Linked DNA regions of Homo sapiens: regions 1, 2 and 3 are each linked to region 4. The links are contacts of gene promoters, found by promoter capture Hi-C in blood cells and fetal thymus (Javierre and others, 2016). All regions are on one chromosome and are shown on one strand. The core of a region is centred on a gene start or on the middle of the fragment in contact, and the rest is flanking DNA. Distances in the headings are between cores, read along the strand shown.

The links. Contacts are between HindIII fragments. The CHiCAGO score rates a contact against its expected background, and 5 or more counts as called.
Region 1: a contact is called between the fragment with the promoter of RCN3 here and a fragment that was not itself captured in region 4, in 2 of 17 cell types (naive B cells and total B cells). The highest score is 6.4, in naive B cells.
Region 2: the fragment with the promoter of PRMT1 here is called in contact with a fragment that was not itself captured in region 4 in 5 of 17 cell types (naive CD4 T cells, naive CD8 T cells, total CD8 T cells and 2 more); the score reaches 6.8 in naive CD4 T cells.
Region 3: the fragment with the promoter of FLT3LG here is called in contact with a fragment that was not itself captured in region 4 in 2 of 17 cell types (naive B cells and total B cells); the score reaches 7.8 in naive B cells.

What each region holds. Positions count from the first base shown.
Region 1 is chr19:49,526,520-49,529,458 of GRCh38, forward strand. It overlaps RCN3 (reticulocalbin 3), which reads left to right and starts at 1,484. Exons shown (of 7, transcript NM_020650.3): 1 at 1,484-1,539; 2 at 1,948-2,195. The coding sequence starts at 1,954. RefSeq lists an enhancer at 1,400-1,978 and a silencer at 1,442-1,561. The HindIII fragment of the contact is 8,718 bases long and covers 1-1,824 here.
Region 2 is chr19:49,675,536-49,678,816 of GRCh38, forward strand. It overlaps PRMT1 (protein arginine methyltransferase 1), which reads left to right and starts at 1,736. Exons shown (of 11, transcript NM_001536.6): 1 at 1,736-1,781. The coding sequence starts at 1,746. RefSeq lists enhancers at 1,221-1,370, 1,375-2,106 and a silencer at 1,951-2,230. The HindIII fragment of the contact is 22,690 bases long and covers 1,402-3,281 here.
Region 3 is chr19:49,472,371-49,475,569 of GRCh38, forward strand. It overlaps FLT3LG (fms related receptor tyrosine kinase 3 ligand), which reads left to right and starts at 1,845. Exons shown (of 9, transcript NM_001459.4): 1 at 1,845-1,911; 2 at 2,233-2,302. The coding sequence starts at 2,270. RefSeq lists a silencer at 2,224-2,303. The HindIII fragment of the contact is 13,906 bases long and covers 1-3,199 here.
Region 4 is chr19:49,205,627-49,208,833 of GRCh38, forward strand. The region is part of intron 20 of TRPM4 (transient receptor potential cation channel subfamily M member 4); the gene reads left to right. Among named protein-coding and RNA genes, the nearest start is that of TRPM4, 49 kb to the left of the region's middle. The HindIII fragment of the contact is 201 bases long and covers 1,410-1,610 here.

The DNA.
Region 1 (2,939 bases), core at 234-2,733, 320 kb after region 4:
GCTCTGTTGCTCAGTCCGGAGTCCTGTGGCGCGATCTCGGCTCACTGTAAGCTCCGCCTCCCTGGGTTCACGCCATTCTCCTGCCTCAGGCTCCCGAGTAGCTGGGACTACAGGCGCCTGCCACCATGCCTGGCTAATTTTTTGTATTTTTAGTACAGACGGGGTTTCACCATGTTAGCCAGGATGGTCTCGATCTCCTGACCTCATGATCCACCCGCCTCTGCCTCCCAAAGGGGTGGGATTACAAGTGTGAGCCACCGCGCCCGGCCTAAGGTCACTTTTTTTTTTTTTTTTTAAGACAGAGTTTTGCTCTTGTTGCTCAGACTGGAGTACAATTGCGTGATCTCAGCTCACTGCAACCTCCGCCTCCCAGGTTCAAGCAATTCTCCTGCCTCCCAAGTAGCTGGGATTACAGGCATGCACCACCACACCCGGCTAATTTTTTGTATTTAGTAGAGACGGGGTTTCACCATGTTGGTCAGGCTGGTCTGGAACTCCTGACCTCAGGTGATCCACCTGCCTCAGCTTCCCAAAGTTCTGGGATTACAGGCATTGAGCTACTGTGCTCAACCTGAGGTCATGTATTTTTAATTCATAACTTTTACAAATATTTACTGGATGACTGCCATGCCAGGCATTTTGAGGAATTCTTGGCTACTGTCTGACCACCTGAATCCTTGGAGCCGAAGAGGAGCGAGGAGCAGTGTTCACTCTTGGAGGAAATGGGATATTTCCTCCGGCCCCTTGATTCTGCTCTCCCTTTTCTTTTCTTTTCTTTTCTTTCTTTTTTTTTTTGAGACGGAGTTTCGCTCTTGTTGCCCAGGCTGGAATGCAATGGTGCGATCTCGGCTCACCACAACCTCCGCCTCCCAGGTTCAAGCAATTCTCCTGCCTCAGCCTCCCAAAGTAGCTGGGATTAAAGACATGCGCCACCACACCCGGCTAATTTTGTATGTTTAGTAGAGATGGGGTTTCTCCGTGTTGATCAGGCTGGTCTCGAACTCCCGACCTCAGGCGATCCGCCCGCCTCGGCCTCCCAAAGTTCTGGGATTACAGGCGTGAGCCACCGCGCCCGGCCTTTTTTCTTTTCTTTCGTTCTTTTTGTTTATTTTTGTTTTGTTTTGTTTTGTTTGGTATAGAAGTGTTGGAACGTACACCTCTTTCTTAAACCATCCTGACAAAGGGAAAGGGAAAAATACATTTCCCGTGAGGCGTTGTGACTAGAACAGCTGGAGGTGGACGGCAGAGTGCCGCGACGACTGCCAGGAGTTGTAGTTCTCCCCGGCCGCGTCACTGCGGTGTCGCCCACCCTTCTTCCCCGGGCAGGCCGCGGTTTCCTTTGTGGACGTGGCGAGGAGTGCCCGCGGCACCCCGTGCACTCATTGGCCCCGCCCCGTGAGACGCTCGTGCGAGCTCATTGGGCGGGGGGCGGGGCTCTGCGCTGCCAGAGGCGGGGCCTGACTGGAGAGCGGCCGAATTGGGCACATTTGCGGGAACGCAGAGCGGAGCGTGGAGAGCGGAGCGAAGCTGGATAACAGGGTAAAGGGAGTGGGTGGGGGGCCTCTGTCCAGGGAGGGCGGCTCGGGTCGAGGACCAGGGTCCGGACTGGGAGCAATGACGGGGAGCCTGCCTGACCTCTCGCTGGCCACAACTATGCCCTGCACCTTGCGTGGGATGTGCGCCACGTCTGTCTCTGTAATTCCCCCTGGCAGGTCTGGGACCCCCCTGAGACTCCGTCAGAAGATTCGGTCCTCCCCATAGGTGGCTTTACCTCTAAGCATCCCGCCCTCTTTTCCCCCATCGCCCGCCCTTTTTGAGCCCGAAAGCTTGCAGCCAACTTCCAACTCCCTGTCCTGTCCTAGGTAACCCCTCCACCCCGCCATTCTCCTATCCCGTGTCTGTCCCCATCCCTGTGACCCCTGACCCCTGGCCTTTGCCACTCCCCAGGGACCGATGATGTGGCGACCATCAGTTCTGCTGCTTCTGTTGCTACTGAGGCACGGGGCCCAGGGGAAGCCATCCCCAGACGCAGGCCCTCATGGCCAGGGGAGGGTGCACCAGGCGGCCCCCCTGAGCGACGCTCCCCATGATGACGCCCACGGGAACTTCCAGTACGACCATGAGGCTTTCCTGGGACGGGAAGTGGCCAAGGAATTCGACCAACTCACCCCAGAGGAAAGCCAGGCCCGTCTGGGGTAAGAGAGACATTCGGTTGGGGCGTGTCCAGAGGTGGGGCTTAGGAGAGAGACGCGGGGGTATCGACAGGGGTCAGAGAAATGGCGTGGACTGAACTTCATTTCTTTGTGAGAAATGAAATTCTACCTTCTATCCTTGGGAAAAAGAAATTAAGTTAAAATTGAGGCCTAAAGAGGACCTTTGAGACCGGGCGTGGTGGCTCATGCCTGTAATCCCAGCACTTTGGGAGGCCAAGGCAGGCCGATCACTTGAGGTCAGGAGTTCGAGAACAGCCTGGCCAACATGGTGAAATCCCGTCTCTACTAAAAATACAAAATTAGGCAGGCGTGGTGGTGGGCACCTGTAATCCCAGCTACTCGGGAGGCTGAGGCAGGAGAATCGCTTGAACCTGGGAGGTGGAGGTTGCAGTGAGCCAAAATTGCACCACTGCCCTCCAGTCAGGGCGACAAAGTGAGACTCCGTCTAAAAAACAACAACAACAATAAAAAAGAGGACCTTTGAGGGCAGCAAAATCTGGGTTAGATTCTGCCCCCTAAGCGCTCCTTATTCTTTTGTCCCAGACATCTCCCCTCCCCAAGCCTCAGTTTCCTGCTCTGTAAATGGCAGGGACTGGTGTGGAAAATGAGGTTTGGCCTTTAAGGAGCCCGGCCAGTGCAGGAGAGTGGCAGAGCCCTGAGTTTCAGGGTGAGCTGGGTGGAATGGAGCCCTGTCCACCCTCTCCGTCCAGGCCTGAGCGCAGGGGG
Region 2 (3,281 bases), core at 486-2,985, 470 kb after region 4:
TTCTCCTGCCTCAGCCTCTGGAGCAGCTGGGACTACAGGCGCCCACCACCACACCCGGCTAATTTTTGTTTTTTTAGTAGAGACGGGGGTTTCACCATATTGGCTAGGCTGGTCTCGAACTCCTGAGCTTGTGATCCGCCCACCTCAGCCTTCCAAAATGCTGGGATTACAGGCGTGAGTCACCGCGCCCGGCCAAATTTTTTTTTTTTTTTTTTTTGAGACAAGAGTCTCGCTCTGTCACCCAGGCTGGAGTGCAGTGGCGCGATCTCAGCTCACTGCAAGCTCCGCCTCCCGGGTTCACGCCATCCTCCTGCCTAAGCCTCCACGCCCGGCTAATTTTTTGTATTTTTAGTAGAGACGGGGGTTTCACCATGTTAGCCAGGATGGTCTCGACCTCCTGACCTTGTGATCCGCCCGCCTCGGTCTCCCAAAATGCTGGGATTACAGGCGTGAGCCACCGCGCCCGGCCGCCTGGCGTAATTTTTGTATTTTTAATAGAAATGGGGGTTTCACCATGTTGCCCAGACTGGTCTCGAACTCCTGATGTCAAGTGATCCGCCTGCCTCCGCCTCCTAAAGTGCTGGAATTACACCCGTGAGCCATCGCGCCCGAACCCTATTGTAAATTTTAAGTCTCAGGCGTTTGCCAGCGGCACGCCAGAGAGTATAGCCTGCGCGGAGGCCCAGAAACCAAAGAGCGAGCTCATTCCGGGATTGGAGAGAAGTGTGAGCAGAGGGAAGTAGAGGGATCGGGGAGAGGAGGGGCAGGACCCACGCATTCGGCCCTTTGCATTCAGCTTCATTCAACTAGGAACTTTTTCTGCAAATCAAGGAAAGCTTCCCGGAGGAAGTGGTGCCTAAGCTGTGCTCTGATTCACGTTTAGAAGCTGACCAGACAAAGAGAGGTGGGCGTTCCTGGCAGGGGGAGGGACTTGGCAAAAACCAAGTGGCTTGAGAGGGGTTGATGGTTTTAAAAAACTTGGAATGATTATGTCAAGGGCTAGGGATTTAATGTGTTGACGACGGACTCCTATTCCTCACTTGCTTCGGGACCCCAGCTATGCCCTTCCTCTCTCTGGGCCTCTCACCGATTCCGTTTTTCCCCCAGGTAATGAGCACAAGCTCCCTTTTTCCTCCAGACTCCCCCCGGGTTGGGAGGATCCACCGAGTGGACGAGGAGTGATAATTCCTTTGAGCCAATCGTTGGTGCCTGAAGCCCCGCCTTCTTCCCTACCCGTGGGCCAATTGCCGTGTTCTCCTTGAGGCCGGCCGCTTGGCGAGGGTGGGCCAAAGGCTGCGTGACGTCGCTTCCGGATAAACCAATGGCAGCGATTAGGAGGCGGGTCGTTTTGGTGATGGACAGGTGTTTCAAGACGCCCCTTTAGCGCGGGGCTCCCCGGGAAGCTTTGAGGCGGTGCTGGGTGTAAAGGGGAGGGCATTCCTGGTGGATTTTGCCCAATCACCAGTCGCGCTTCTTGCAATAGACGGGCAGTTTTCCCCATCCCGGGTCGACTTGAGGGGGCGGGATTCTGGACGCCAGAGTTGGCAAACCCCTGACCTATGATGGACGTATTCTCTAGCCAATTACTAGACGGTATTCTCAGACGGGCCGCCTCCATTGCCAATGAAATCTTCCAGCGGGGTCGCGGTAGGCGGGCCGTGGACCCTCTGGTATAAGGCGGTCCCGGGGGAGTGAGGAGAAAGGGGGGGTCTTGGCGGCCGGAGGAGGAGTAGGTGCGGGTGAAGATGGCGGCAGCCGAGGCCGCGAACTGCATCATGGAGGTGAGCGCTTGGAGCGCCGCCGTGGGCGGGAGGCGGCTTTGGGTCGGTGTTTCACGCCTCTGTGGTGGGGAAAGGGCTCTAAGTTGGCGATATGGGGTTGGAGGTCCCCCGCCGCACACGGGGGCGCCGCACGTTCCACATCCGGGGATATCGTTTGAGGTGACGGCTCCCTAGCTTCCAAGGGCCTTCGGCATCCGGCCTAGCGGAGGGTCTTATCCCCCCTCCCACGTGGAGGAGGGCTGGGGGCGCTTCCGGCCAGGCCCCCACGTGGCCGCTGCGCGGTGGGTGGGGAGGGGGTGTGCCGAGTCCAGTGGCCCGGCGGGCTCCACGTGCGGGACAAAGGCCCCGCCCCCGGCCGGGGAGGGGCGCCCAGGGGGGCGGGGAGGGGGTCCGACCCTCCTGACGCCCCCAGCCCTCCTCCCCGGGGACCTGGGCACACGCCGTGGGGTGTGATCGACCTGGGGCCCTCCACGATGTGGGGAGTCTCTTGGGAGGAGCAGTGCTTCTCAGCCCTTTACCAACCTCCTTCCGAGCTCCGGGGGCATCTGTTGGGATATCGGACCCGGTTTTGTGCGTTCTGGGTTAGGGACTGGAGGAAAACCAAGAATGGGGTCCCCCGCCGACCCCGTTTCCCCTCCCAGAATTCTCCCCCTCGCCCAGGGCTTTAGGAGTTGGGGGATGGGGCATGCCCCTGTGACCTCCCTCTGGGTGGTGGTGGGGCATCTAGATAGAGATTTTCCCATTAATAGGCGCCGTGCACCCCCTTGTGGCCATTTCTGGGTGTGTGGGAGGGACATCTTTTTCATGGGGCGTGTCCTGAAGCCCACCTCCCCTCGGATTTCTTCCTGGCGGGCGGAGGGAGGAGGGTATGTCCGCTGGGAAGGAGTTGTGGGAAATATGTAGGCTGAGAGCTTTACCCTACTGGAGCCGTTTATCTCCCCCGGGTCTTTGTGAGGGTGCGAGATGACCTCCTTCTTCCTGAAGCCCTGTGCAGGGTCCTGAGCCCTGGGGTCCTGAGAGTGGGTGCCTGAAATGGTTTCGAGTGAGGTTTGGTTCTCGTGCAGCCATGTGGGGGAGGTTTCAGTCTTGCGTTTCAAGCCCTCTGGGGCTGGGGTTGTCTGGCGGTAGTTTTCAGTGGTATTGAGAAATAGGCCCGAGTGGGAAACCCCCTCAGCACCTTTCTTCTTATAGGCATCCCCGCTAGCTTGGGAGAGCTGGAGGGAGGGTGCTTGGAGCCTAGTAGGTCATGGCCTGTGACGTGGCCCTTCTTGGAGACTTGGATAGTGGTCACATCTGGAAGAGATGTAATCTGATGGGGCCTCTGTCCTTCCACCCCTTACCTATGGCATTGGCTGGAGGGGCAGGTCAGCTCTCAGCTGTCAGGATGCAGCTCCCAGGGGTCACTGTAATGACTTCCCACCCTCTTGGCTGTCTCCTGCACCTGGGGCTCTATGGATGGAGGAAATAACTTTCCCAGAGGTGGCCTCAGGCTTGGCCGCA
Region 3 (3,199 bases), core at 595-3,094, 270 kb after region 4:
GCTGAGGCAGAAGAATCACTCGAACCCAGGAGGCAGAGGTTGCAGTGAGCTGAGAGCACACACTTCACTCTAGTCTGGGCAACAGAGCAAGGCTCCATCTCAAAGAAAAAAAAAATGAGAGTTTTCCGGACTAGGTGTGGCAGTTCACACCTGTAATCCCAGCACTTTGGGAGGCCGAGGTGGGTGGATCACTTGTCAGAAGTTTGAGACCAGCCTGGGCACCATGGTGAAATCCCGTCTCTACTAAAATTATAAAAATTAGCCAGGCGTGGTGGCGGCACCTGAAATCCCAGCTATCTGGGAGGCAGGAGAATTGCTTGAACCTGGGAGGCAGAGGGGGAGCTTGCAGTGAGCCAAGATCGTGCCACTGCACTCCAGCCTGGGCAACACAGCGAGACTCGGTCTCAAAAAAAAAAGAGAGAGAGAGAGGAGTCTTCTGGAAGGCTACAGAGATTCCCTAGAGGCAATAGGGCGATAGGGCAGGACACACATTGAGGGGCCCCAGGACTTGGTCAGGAAGGAGCTAGAGCAGGTCCTTTGTCCATGGGCCACATGAGCTATTGGGGCTTGTATCTCTGCCTCTCTGCTTCATTTAAATCTTTCTAGCCAGATGGAAGGTCTGACCATTGGGTGCGACAAGGCAGCTAACCCAGGCTGAACAGGAAGTGAGGCAGGCAGAGGGATCAGGGAAGGGAAATGGATGATGAAGGCCAGGACGGGCGAGGCTTTGCTGCAGTAACACATAACCCCCGAATCTGCGTGGGCCACAACCACAACATTAGTTTGTTGCTTACACTCCCTGTGCTCATCCGGGGCTGGCAGGATCCCTGTGCTCCTCCGAGTGGCACAGGAAACTTGGCTGATAGAGGCGCTCTCTCCATGCATCCTCCACCATCCACTCCCCGGTCCCTTAGACTTCCATTCAGAAGTGACACCTGTCACCTCCACCCTCATGTGACTGGCCAAAGTGAGTGTGGCCATGTCCGAGTTCCCCAGGATGGGACCTCGAATCCTCCTGCTGGGGGGGTGGGGGCAGCAGATGTTTCAGGACAGTCTGCCACGGATCAGATGGGTGAGCAAGAGATTCAGGATGGGCGTGATGGGTCACACCTGTAATCCCAGCATTTTGGGAGGCCGAGGCAGGCTGATCACCTGAGGTCAGGAGTTCGAGATCAGCCTGGCCAACATAGTGAAACCTCGTCTCTACTAAAAATACAAAAATTAGCCGGGCATGGTGGCACGCACCTGCAATTCCAGCTACTTGGGAGCCTGAGGCACAAGAATTGCTTAAGCCCAGGAGGCGGAGGTTGCCGTGAGCCGAGACTGTGCCACTGCACTCCAGCCTGGGCAACAGAGTGAGACCCCATCTAAAAAAAAAAAATGCTTCAGAGATTCAGAGATCCACAGATGTGGAAGAGAGCTTCTATTTTGTCTCATGTACCACCTCACCCCTCAGTTTGGAGTTGGAGAAGCCGAGGCTTAGAGAGGTCAAGGGGCTGGCCAAGCTCCCACAGTGATAAAGCTAGTGCTAGGGCGACACCTGCCAGGCCCAATGTGACAAGATGCATCCTGAGTCCTGTGTGCCAAGCCTTGGCGGGGCAAAGTTGGGGCCCGGAGGACGGTAAGACACAGCAACTGCGAGTTCCCAGAGACAGATCCGGGTTCCAGCCCCAGCTCACCATGCACTGGGCGTGCCACCCAGGGAGTCAGCCCCACTGCAGCCCCCGCTGCGGGGCGTCCGGAGAACGCGCCATCTGCGGCGTGAGCGGCCGCCTCTCACCACCAGGGGGCGCGCTCCGCCTGGGCCCAGATTCCACCCCTTGACTGTCTCCCCCCAAAAATTTCCTTTCACTTTCGGTCTCTGGCTGTCACCCGGCTTGGCCCCTTCCACACCCAACTGGGGCAAGCCTGGTGCGTGAGGAGACTTGGACTCTAGGTCCCCAAGGGGCGGAGCCAGGGTCCCCACTCCTGGGGCAGGGGGAGCAGAGGGTGGGGGGCTGGGTTCCCGGGTCCCTAACCTGGGGAGGGTTCTGGGGACCAGACGTCGAGGTTCTTAGAAGTGGAGATGAAGAGTTTTCACCGTAACTGGGGCAGACGCAGGAAGCCTGGGGGAGGAAGGGGCGGAAACTCAGCCACATCAATGGGACGCGGGAGGGGCGGGGAGGCAAAGGGGCGGGCAGGGCAGGGGCTGGGGCATGAGGGTCCGAGACTTGTTCTTCTGTCCCTTCCAAGACCCGGCGACAGGAGGCATGAGGGGCCCCCGGCCGAAATGACAGTGCTGGCGCCAGCCTGGAGCCCAACAGTGCGTAAACCCCAGGGACAAGATCAGGGGAGAGGGGAGGCACAATGTCAGGATGGGGCAGAGATGAGGGGAGATGGACGGGAGAACAGATGGACAGATGACGAGGAAATAGGAGGGGAGATGGACAGATGTGAGGGGAGATGGATAGGAGAGGAGACGGACAGAGGAGGGGGAGATGGACAGAGGATGGGGAGATGGACAGAGGAGGGGGAGATAGAGGAGAGGGAGATAGAGAGGAGTGGGAGATGGACAGGAGCGGGGAGATGGACAGAGGAGGGGGAGATGGACAGAGGAGAGGGCAGATGAACAGAGGAGAGGGAGATAAAGAGGAGGGAGGTGGACAGGAGGAGGGAGATGGACAGAGAAGGGGGAGATGGACAGAGGTGGGGGAGATGGACAGGAGGGAAGATGGAGAGGAGGGGGTATGGACAGAGGAGAGGGGAGATGGACAGGAGGGGGAGATGGACAGAGGAGAGGGAGATGAAGAGGAGGGGGAGGTGGACAGGAGGAGGGAGACGGACAGAGGAGAGGAAGAGAGACAGAGGAGGGGGGAGATGGACAGAGGAGGGGGAGATGGACAGAAAAGGGGGGAGATGGACAGAGGAGAGGGAAGGTGGACAGAGCCAAGAACAAATGAAGAGGACGTGGACCAAGATCAAGAGAGAAGCAGGCAACAGTGGTGTAGAAGGCAGAGGGAGGGACAGAGCTGGAGGAACCCGGGCGAGGAAACCAGACGTGAAGATGAGGTGGTTGGAGAGAGACCAGCAGAGTGGGGGAGATGGGGAGAGAGAGGGGTGGGGCAGAGGGGGATGCAAACTGGACAGCATTGGACCAGAGGCAGAGAGAAACCGGGAAAGACAGGCAGAGATGGGGCCATGTCTCCAGAAAGTGTGGAAG
Region 4 (3,207 bases), core at 260-2,759:
CTGGGTTCAAGGGATTCTCCTGCCTCAGCCTCCCGAGTAGCTGGGATTACAGGTGCCTGCCACTATACACAGCTAATTTTTGTATTTTTAGTAGGGACGGGGTTTCACCATGTTGCCCAGGCCGATCTCAAACTCCTGACCTCAGGTGATGCACCTGCCTCGGCCTCCCAAAGTGCTGGGATTACAGCCGTGAGCCACTGGACCCGGCCGGACTTCAACATATCTTTAGCGGGATACAATTCAATGCATGACACTCATAGATTTATGAGTTTATTTCTGGACTTTCAATTCTATTCCACTGGATTGCGTCTATCCTTATGCCAGAACCACACAGTTTTTTGGGTTTTTTTTGAGACGGAGTCTCGCTCTTGTCACCCAGGCGGGATTGCAGTGGCACGATCTCTGCTCACTGCAACATCCGCATCCTGGATTCAAACGATTCTCCTAACTCAGCCTCCTGAGTAGCTGGGATTACAGGCACCTGCCACCACGCCCGGCTAATTTTTTTGTATTTTTGGTAGAGACAGGGTTTCACCATGTTGGCCAGGCTAGTCTTGAACTCCTGACCTCAGGTGATCTGCCTCGGCTTTCCAAGGTGCTGGGATTACAGGCGTGAGCCACCATGTCTAGCCCACACAGTGTTGATTACTGTAGGTTTGTAGCAAATTTTGACATTGGAAGTATGAGTCTCCTTTGTTATTTTTCAAGATTGTTTTGGCTATTCTGGGCCTCCTGCAATTCTATATGAACTTAAAGATCAGAGTTTCCATGTCTGTCAAAAAGGTTGTTGGAATTTTCTTTTTTTTTCCTTTTTTTTTTTTCTTTTTTTTGAGACAGAGTTTCACTCTTGTTGCCCAGGCTGGAGTGCAATGGCGCGATCTCAGCTCACCACAACCTCTGCCTCCCGGGCTCAAGCGATTCTCCTGCCTCAGCCTCCTGAGTAGCTGGGCTTATAGGCATGTGCCACCACGCCCGGCTAATTTTGTATTTTTAGTAGAGACAGGGTTTCTCCATGTTGGTCAGGCTGGTCTCGAACTCCCGACCTCAGGTGATCCACCCGCCTTGGCCTCCCAAAGTTCTGGGATTACAGGTGTGAGCCACCGCGCCCGGCCAGTTGTTGGAATTTTCCGAGGGATTGCGTTGAATCTGTAGATTGCTTCGGGTAGTATTGATATTTCATCTAGGTGTTCTTTTTAATGCTTTTCCAGCAGTATTTGGTAGTTTTCAGGCTACAAATTGTTCACCCTTTTGGTTAACTTTATTCCTAGGTGCTTAACCTTTAGATACTGTTGTAAGTGGAATTGCTTTCTTAATTTCCTTTTTGGATTGTTCATTGCGGGTGTGTAGAAACACAACTGATTTTTGTGTGATCTTGTACCCTGCAACTTTGCTGAATCTGCAGCCCTAGAAGCTTTCTTGTGATTCTCTGGCATTTCCTATATATAGGATCATGTCATCTGTGAATAGAGATATTTTTACTTCTTCCTTTCCAATTTGGATGCCTTTTATTTTTTTTCTTGTTTAATTGTTCTAGCCAGAACTTCCAGCACAATGTGGAATAGCAGTGGTAAAAGTGGACATCCTTGTCTTGTCCCTGATCTTAGGCAGAAAGCTTTCACTCTTTCACCATTGGGTATGACGGTAGCTGTGGGTTTTTCAGAAGTACCTTTTCTCATGTTGAGAAAGTTTATTTCTATTCCTAGTTTACGATTTTTAAAAATTATGATGCATGGTGGCTTGTGCCTGCAATCACAATACTTTAGGGAGCCAAAGTGGGAGGATCACTTGAGGCCAGGAGTTCAAGACCGACCTGGGCAACATAGTGAGACCTTATCTCAATAAAAAAATAAAAAATTTGCCAGGCGTGGTGGTGCATGCCTGTAGTCCCAGCTACTCAAGAGGCTGAGGTGGGAGGAAGGCTTGAGCCCAGGAGGTCAAGGCTGTGGCTTCAGTGAGCCATGATTTCACCACCATCATGATTGTGCCACCAACAGAGTGAAACCTTGTCTCAAAAAAAAAAAAAAAAAAAAAAAGCCATGCATGGTGGCTCAAGCCTGCAATCCCAGCACTTTGGGAGGCCGAGGTGGGCAGATCATGAGGTCAGGAGATCGAGACCATCCTGGCTAACACGGTTGTAGGGGCCAGCCCTACAAGGTCTGTGGGTTTTTCTCCCCGTGTGCAGAGACAAGAGATTGTAGAAATGAAGACACAAGACAAAGAGATCAAAGAAAAGACAGCTGGGCCTGGGGGACCACTACCACCAAGACGTGGAGACCGACAGTGGCCCCTAATGCCTGGCTGCGCTGTTATTTATTGGATACAAAGCAAAAGGGGCAGGGTAAAGAGTGTGAGTCATCTCCAATGATTGATAAGGTCACGTGAGTCACATGTCCACTGGACAGGGGCCCTTCCCTGTTAGGTAGCCAAGGCGGAGAGAGAGAGGACAGCTTACATCATTATTTCTTCTATGCTCTTTTAAGAAAGATCAAAGACTTTAATACTTTAATACTTTCACTAATTTTGCTACTGCTATCTAGAGGGCAGAGCCAGCTGTACAGAGTGGAACATGAAAGTGAAACAGGAGTGTGACCGCTGAAGCACAGCATCACAGGGAGACGGTTAGGCCCCTGGATAACTGCGGGCGGGCCTGACATCAGTCAGGCCCTCCACAAGAGGTGGTGGAGCAGTCTTCTCTAAACTCCCCCGGGGAAAGGGAGACTCCCTTTCCCGGTCTGCTAAGTAGTGGGTGCTTTTCCTTGGCACTGACGCTACCTCTAGACCACGGTCCGCTTGGTAACGGGAATCTTCCCAGATGCTGGCGTTACCGCTAGACCAAGGAGCCCTCTGGTGGCCCTGTCCAGGAATAACAGAAGGCTCACACTCTGTCTTCTGGTCACTTCTCATCATGCCCCTTCAGCTCCTATCTCTGTATGGCTTGGTTTTTCCTAGGTTATGATTGTAAAGCAAGGATTATTATAATATTGAAATAAAGAGTAATTGCTACAAACTAATGATTGATATTCATATATAATCATATCTATGATCTATATCTAGTATAACTCTTGTTATTTTATATGTTTTATTACACTGGAACAGCTTGTGCCCTCGGTCTCTTGCCTTGGCACCTGGGTGGCTTGCCGCCCACACATGGTGAAACCCCATCTTTACTAAAAATACAAAAAGTTAGCTGAGCGTGGTGGTGGGTGC